Linked DNA regions of Homo sapiens: region 2 is linked to region 1. The links are contacts of gene promoters, found by promoter capture Hi-C in human tissues and cell types (Jung and others, 2019). All regions are on one chromosome and are shown on one strand. The core of a region is centred on a gene start or on the middle of the fragment in contact, and the rest is flanking DNA. Distances in the headings are between cores, read along the strand shown. Region 1 holds the start of CDH20 (cadherin 20). Region 2 has its middle 470 kb from the start of CDH20.

Region 1 (3,818 bases), core at 490-2,989:
CTCCCATCTGTCATCCCTGACAGGGCAAGACCAAGCCTCCCTCTTCCTCCTTCTCCTTCACCTGCTCAACATGAAGCCAACAAGGATGAAGACCTTTATGATGATCCACTTCCACTTAATGAATAGTAAATACATTTCATTTTCCTTATTATTTCCTTAGTATCATTTTCTTTCCTCCAGACTATTGTTAAGAATACAGCATATAAAATGTATAGCATATAAAATATGTGTTAGTCGACTGCTTATGTTATCCATAAAGTTTCCAGACAACAGTAGGCTATTAGTAGTTAAGTTTTTGGAGTGAAAAGTTATATGCGGATTTTTGACTACACGAGGGTCAGTGCTCCTAACCCCCATGTTGTTCAAGGGTCAACTGCCCTTACTTTATTGAGCCACATCTGCATCATCTATTAAAATAGAGAAATAATAGTCTAGACTGAATAGAGTTGTTGGAAAAATGAAATGAAATAACATGTGTAACACATGTCTGTCACATAACAAGTTCTCCATAAACATTAGCTATTCTGCTATTAATAATCATTGTTATAACTATGAGTTCTAATTCTAGGCCTGCTGAAAGCTATTAAAATATGGCATGACTGCCTTAACTGGGATACTATTTCTATTGTCACACACTTGGGAATCTTATTGGATGTTTATATATATCATTTTATCAGTTCTTTACACACATTGATCATTTGGCCACAGAGCAGTTGTACAAATAGATTATTTAGTAACCTATCAATTCAATCAAAATAACTTGCTCTATTACAATCAGTGATGGGGGAGGAAATCCTCCAAGCACCTTGCTTGAAGAGAAATGTAGAAACCACATCGGGCAAAAAGTCCCCCTCCAGCCACTGTGAAACCCAAGTTGTCGTCAGTAACTTGACATTCTAGGGTAGGAATCAGGACAGGAGAGAGGTGATCTCTCCTTTTGACCTTGTGTATTCTGACCTCAGAAATAAGAGCTGGAATTGCCTTCTGGAATGGGCCTGTCACAGTATTGTGTGATTTGGGGGACCCCCTTCATCTGGGAGAGAAGGGTGGTCTCAGCTTCCACCTCAGAAATTTCTGACCCTTAATATACCTCCACCCCATCTCTAGTTAAAGGCTTAAAACTCTAAGATTTTCCTATGAGGACAAAAAGAAAAGGAAATCTGAGCATTTGAAGAAATTCTTAAAAGTCGATGAGTGAGGTTTCCCTCACACATGCCATCTTCCCCTACCTCTCCTCTTGAAAACAATGTCTTTTGCACCCTCAAGGTCAAGGTTAAACCCGAGTTGGTACTCATTTCCTTTCTGATTTTATTTGCCTTATCCTGTTCTACTCCTCAATTGCCTCTTCCAGAATCTGTGCAAAATAATTACCTCAACTTCAGGGGAAAGTTTAGATGTAAATACCCCCGCCCCCCTCCCCACGTCCACACATCCCCTTTCTTCTCTCTCCCTCTTAACATTTCCTTACGCTCTCAGCCAATAGAGGAGTTGAAACATTTAAATGCGGTATCTAAACTGCATTTAAAGAATTAACCCATTTTGCCCCTCACTGGTCTAAACCACAGGGTGCCAACCGGACGTTAATTGCTTTCATCTGGTGGGGTTCCAGACAGCTCCTCAGAAGGAAGGAGCGCACATTCCTGGCACCAATTGGCTAATTCAATTTACTTCAGCGGCATTAGCCTCTGTCAGAATATTCATGAGCAGGGGAATGAGGACCCGCGGTACAGGCAGGCAGCAGCCACTCCTGCTAGGGAAGGCGCGAGGGAGGGGAAGCGGACCGCGCGCCACGCTCGGGGGACGGTGACCGCGACCAGGGGGCTCTTCTCACTGGACAGGCCGAACGCGGTGGCCGCGGGAGGGCAGGGCAGGGCATCGGCGGGGTTGGTGCACTTGGCAGTACCCCCCAACTCCTGGCAACCGCACGGAGACTTTGCGAAACATCCGAAGGCAGAAAAGCTGTGACACTTCTGACAGAGGGGGTAGGGGGGTGGGGGGCGGGGACAGCGCCGCGAGCAGGGGTGAAGAGACCCAGCGGGGCACCAGCCGCCCAGTGGGGGAGGCAGCTACGTGAGCAGAACGCCCGCCCTGGAGCAGTTAGGACCGAAGGTCTCCGGAGAGTCGCCGGCGGTGCCAGGTAACGCAGAGGGCTCGGGTCGGGCCCCGCTTCTGGGGCTTGGGACTCCGGGCGCGCGGAGCCAGCCCTCTGGGGCGAAATCCCCGGGCGGCGTGCGCGGTCCCTCTCCGCGCTGTGCTCTCCCAGCAACTCCCTGCCACCTCGACGAGCCTACCGGCCGCTCCGAGTTCGACTTCCTCGGACTTAGTGGGAGAAGGGGTTGGAAATGGGCTGCCGGGACTGGGGGAGCTGCTCTCTGGAAGCAGGGAAGCTGGGGCGCACCGGGGCAGGTGGAGGACGTGGCGCGCTGGGAGCGGGGACTGCGCGCGCCTGGGGATGGTGACTGGGGATCCAGGAGCGCGGCTTGTGGGGGCGCTTGGCACGGCTTCACCCTCGCTGGCCCCGCAGGCGGTGGCGCCTCCCTCCGCCTGCAGAGGGGACAGGGTGGCCGCGTCCCTCGCACAGAGATGTGCGCCGGGAAGGGGACCAGAGAGCCAGGCTCCGGGGAGGCGCAGGCACCTACGGGGCCGATCCCTGGTCCGTGCCTCGCGCCGCGCCCCCGCCGGAGCTCGGCTGTGGGAGGAGAATGTGGTGGGTACTCGAGTCCCCGCCACCTGCCGGACTTCGCCAACTCCCCGGATTTCCTGTCCTCGGGCCCTGACACTCCCAAGGAAAGCTCTGAATTGCGCTCGCTGTTTGGTTTTTGCTTGTTGTAGTTACTCTGGGGGAAGAGCCGGGGGCAAGGGGGTCAAATGGGGCTAAAGTTTCAGATTTGCAAAGAGAACGTTACCGAGGACTCTCAACGTGTCCTTAGCAATCGGAGAGACTGCAGCAGCCTTTGCCTAGCTATCCGCCTCTGGGGCAGCAGTGGGGGCTGAAATCTGGAAGGCAGCCCGGAGGCAGCGTCAGAGCCTTGTTTTGTTTTGTTTGTTTCTGCCGAGACCAGGCTGGAAGTGAGAGGGGATAGTACCAGACAATCGGGGAGTTGGTCGCCTGGTAGATTCAGAGTTTACTATGTTGTTGCTATTATTATTAATGCTCTTGTTATTGGCACGAGCACCAGGAACAATTTTTTTTCTGATTGTTATAAATCGCCTGCAAATTGAACCTGCAGCCGCCTCCCCTCAAATGAAATGTCCCCGGACCTCCTCCAGTCTCTGATGTGTGTCTTTCCACCAAAGGAAATTACCCACTCAGAGCTGTGGTGCTGTCAGGGACTCAGCTAAGGAATTGGATCTACCTAAGAACAACAAAAAGTTGAAACTAGGATGAGTTTGAACCCACGCTTATAGATGAGTATTATGTTCCTATCTGCTCACCTTCCTCAGCCGCCTCTGGCTGGGGAACCCTGAAGGCATAGCCATCTTGAGAGTTGACCCAGCGTTTCCCTTTCATTTATTTATATAACCTGGGAAAATCTTTTCCCTTTAGTGTCACCCTTGCAGTCTCGTTGGACATGCTGAAAGGATTCAGGTCCTGACACTGGAGGAATCCGTAAGGGCACCTGTGGTTGCCAACTCTTGGCTTGACCCTGTTCAGATGTTGCCCAGGGTGCAGGCTTGGGCAGCTGATGCAGCAGAAAGCTGGGCGAGGGTGTGGGAGAACAGTATGGCAGAGTTAAGCTGAGTGCAGGAGATGAGGTCAAGCCTCCACGCTGGCCACATCCCTTCCTGCCAGAGAAAAAAGAGACAAATGAAGAGCA
Region 2 (3,818 bases), core at 378-2,877, 470 kb before region 1:
CTTTTACATTTTTAAATTTAAGATTGTTTTCCACAGTAATTCAATTTGCATTCCCATTAGTAATATATAATATTACTTGCTTAACCAAATTTGAACAGATTTCTTAATATTACTTTAAATGTTTTTTGTTAAATTGATTTCCTTTGTTATTAATAAGTGGGTGGATTTTTAAATTTACTTTTATAATAAATGTAGTTTCTCATTTATGAATTGGCTGCCCAGGTTGTTCGATTTTTTATTAGCTTAAAGGGTCTTAGTGTTTTGGCATCAATAGGAATAGACTCTTTTTATAATAAAAGATACTATATTTGTTTCAAATAGTTTCTTCAGTTTATTGTTTATCTTTTGTTTTCAATTCTGTATTTTTGTCTTTTTGAAATAAAAATCATACACAAGTTTTAAAGGGTTATGCAGCCAAATAGTCCACTTTTTTCTATGTGTGCTTGCTGTCACTTTTAAACTAAGAAAGTCTACCATCTGGAGATCTGACAAATACTTGATATATTATTCATTTCCTTATGATTTAGTTTTTAAACTTCTTTAATACATTAGAAATCTATTTTTTTCGGGTTTTGTGAGGTTGAGGGTTCTAATTTCTGGCTTGGTATTTATCAGATAAAGGATCTTAATTTATAACTCTAAATTCTTTTATCTTTTTAATCCCTAGAGTCATCACTTTCCCCATGGCTAAGTATGAAAAGAGATAAAAGGTTAGAGATGTGAATGTGAAAGACTGATTGTTGTTTTCCTAATTAACGTGGACCGAGAGTCTGTGAGAGAGAATGACTTTCTTTGAATGTTTTCACAGTCCCCTTAATAACATGACTTTTGCTTGTTTGTATCAAATTAAGGCAGAAATGACTTAGATAGATTGGCCCAAACATACTTAAAGTACTCATAATTAGGCAAAATAAAGGAACATAGAGACTCTCAAGTTTTGCTAGAATCTATCACCTGTGAAAGGTAAATATAAATACATGACTTTTAGATTATTAGAAAAAGTAGAAGCACACTTCTTTTTAAGAGAAACTGTATATGGAATTTTGGGAGAAAATAGACTTTATCTGGCCAAATGTGGGGCATTTGGCTGTGAGACTGGACAGAAAGTCATCTTAACAACGGGTTTTGGCATGAATTAAGCAGAGCTGCAAAGAACAGGTTTCTGTTGCCACTCTTTGTAAGGTCCACAGGACTGCAGTTTTAGGCAAAACAATCCATCGGAACCAATGAGGGAGGACTCATGCAGAAGTTCAAGTTCAAAGAGGGGTCCCAAATGCCTTCACAGTGTATGGAGAAGATACAGAAGGCCAGGGCCTTGACCATAAACCATACTAGTCCCCCAAGCTCTTTCTCCAGTGGCTTCTGCTTGTATCTTTTGGCAGAAAAGTAAATGAGGGTTGAGAACAGAGAGGGAGATAGCAGAACTGGGAAGCCAAGACACATACAGCATTGCTAAGTAGTATAAAAGGAACAGAAAGAGGGGAAGAATGAGGCTAGGACACTTAGGGAGACTTGTTTATCATTTTAAACATGTTTTTGTTCATCTACTTGTTTTCTTGCTTATTTGCTTGTGTATTTGTTTATCTGTACCTATGTACCAAGTATTATGTTCGGAACCAAAGATAAATAAGCCTAAATATTCTGAACCTTCATCCATTCACTGAGTATTCACTGAGGTTCTACTATGGGCCATCATCCTTTTTAAGAGTTTGAGGTACATGCAAGAACAAAACAGACATGGTCTTCTCTCTTATAGGAGCTCTACTTATCTCTCTCTGTCTTAAAATATTTAAAACATAGAAACATAAATGAAAACATATCACATATTCCTGTATTATCTCCAGGTTTCACAAATGTTAAAATTTTCATATTTGTTTCAAGTATTATTTTTAAAAGTTAAATCTTTTATTTCATTATAGCTACAGTTAGAGCTGCTTTAACCACTCTCTAATTTCATGTTCCTTCTGCTCTTCAGGGAAGTAATTAATTGTCTTGACATTGGCAGTCTTCCAATTTTTAAAAGTATATTACTACACACATACTTGTTCATGAAAAACTTGTAGTGCAATTTTATAATTTGAAGATTTTGAAATGATGTTTTAGGTATGAAATGACAACTCGTTTTTTATACTTCACATCAGGATTTCAGATAATTCATACACATTTATTAAATATCCTCTATGCCACAGGAAATACTCTAAGTGCTAGAAGAAAACAGTGAAGAAAACAAACTAAAGTCTTTGCACTCATGAAGCTTATATTCTAATAGGATAATAGACAATGAACAACAAAATATGAAATATTCGATTAAGGCTGCTGTTACAAACTGAATTTTGTACCTCCCAATATACATATGTTGAAGGTCTAACCCTCAAAGTGACAAATATTTAGAGAGAGAAACTTTAGGGAGGGAATAAGATTAAGAGAGGTCATTAGGTAGGGTTTTGATCCCACAGGACATGTGTGCTTATAAAGAGACACCACCAGATAGTTCTCTGAGATTGAGAGGCCTTGTGAGGACACAGCAAGGTGCCACTCATCTGCAAGCCAGGAAGACAGCTCTCACCAGGAATCCAATCTGCTGACACCTTGATAGGGACTTAGAACCTCCAGATGAGTGAGGATGTATATTTCTGTTGTTTAAGCCACCATCCTGTGGTGTTTTTTTATGGAAGCCAAGCTGACTAATGCAGCGGCTTTATAACTGATAAGTGCTAACAAGAAAAATTAAGAAAAGGGAGAGGAAGTAATAGGGTTCAGATCAGAAGCTGAGATGAAGCATCCAGGGAGGTATTAACCAAGAAGCTAATCTTGAGGAAAGCTCTGAAGAAAATAAAGGAGCTGGTCATTTGGCTACATGAGCAAACACAGAACTGCAAGTTCAAAGACTGAGGCAGAAGCATCCCTGGTGCATTCTAGGAAGAGGAGGAGGTCCAGATGGCTGGAGTACAGGGAAAGAGAGGAAGGGAGGGAAGAGATGGGGCCTGAGAATAACAGAAGCCAGATCATGTAGAAACCAAGGGAGAGTAAGAAGAAGAATGATAGCATCCAACATTCATTTGAACAAATCGCTGTGAGCAGTCCTGTTGAGAAAAGACAGAAAGAACCAAGGGCAGCAGCAGGGAAACCTCTTGTAAAAACTCATTTCAGTAACAAAAGCAAAAGATAATGGTGGTTTCAATCAGACAGGTGGCAGTGGCAGTGGGGTGATGGGAAGTGATCAGGTTGGAGATCAATTTTGAAAGATCTAAGCAACTGTCAGAATCATCTTGGCAGTAAAAGAAGTGAGGAAGACTGCATGGGGAACAGCTTTGAGCTCCCAGGAGCCAAAGTCCAAGACTTGCAGATGAGATGTTGACTAAATGGGTTGTGAGACAGAGGGGTCTGGAATTTAGGGGAAAGATCTGGGCTGGAGGTGTAACTTTAAAGTCATTAGCACCAGGTTGACATTTAGAGCCACAAAAATTGATAAGGTCACTTAAAAAGTAAATGTTGCTTGCAAAGAGAAGTCCAAAGGAAATTTTAGAGATGACCATCAACCAGCAAAGAAGACTGAGAGATTGGCCAGAAATTTAGGAGGAGAACCAGGTGTCATAGCTGGATGTTAAATGAAGAAAAAAGTTTCAAAGGGAAGTCATCAGATGCATCAAATTTATCAATGTTGATGCATGTAGATCAAGGCCATTTATTTATTTTCCATATATTCTATCATATGAACATAGCCATTTTTATTTATATACTCCTATAATAATACATACTTTGGTTATTTATGATGTTTCACTTTTATCCGTCATGTAGCAATGATTATCTGTGTTCAT

The links. Contacts are between HindIII fragments. The study calls those that stand out against the background at their distance.
Region 2: a contact is called between a fragment that was not itself captured here and the fragment with the promoter of CDH20 in region 1, in 4 of the 25 tissues and cell types used here (IMR-90 fibroblasts, aorta, mesenchymal stem cells and 1 more).

What each region holds. Positions count from the first base shown.
Region 1 is chr18:61,331,691-61,335,508 of GRCh38, forward strand. It overlaps CDH20 (cadherin 20), which reads left to right and starts at 1,740. Exons shown (of 12, transcript NM_031891.4): 1 at 1,740-2,137. The HindIII fragment of the contact is 19,388 bases long and covers 1-3,818 here.
Region 2 is chr18:60,857,384-60,861,201 of GRCh38, forward strand. No RefSeq gene overlaps it. Among named protein-coding and RNA genes, the nearest start is that of CDH20, 470 kb to the right of the region's middle. The HindIII fragment of the contact is 7,873 bases long and covers 1-3,818 here.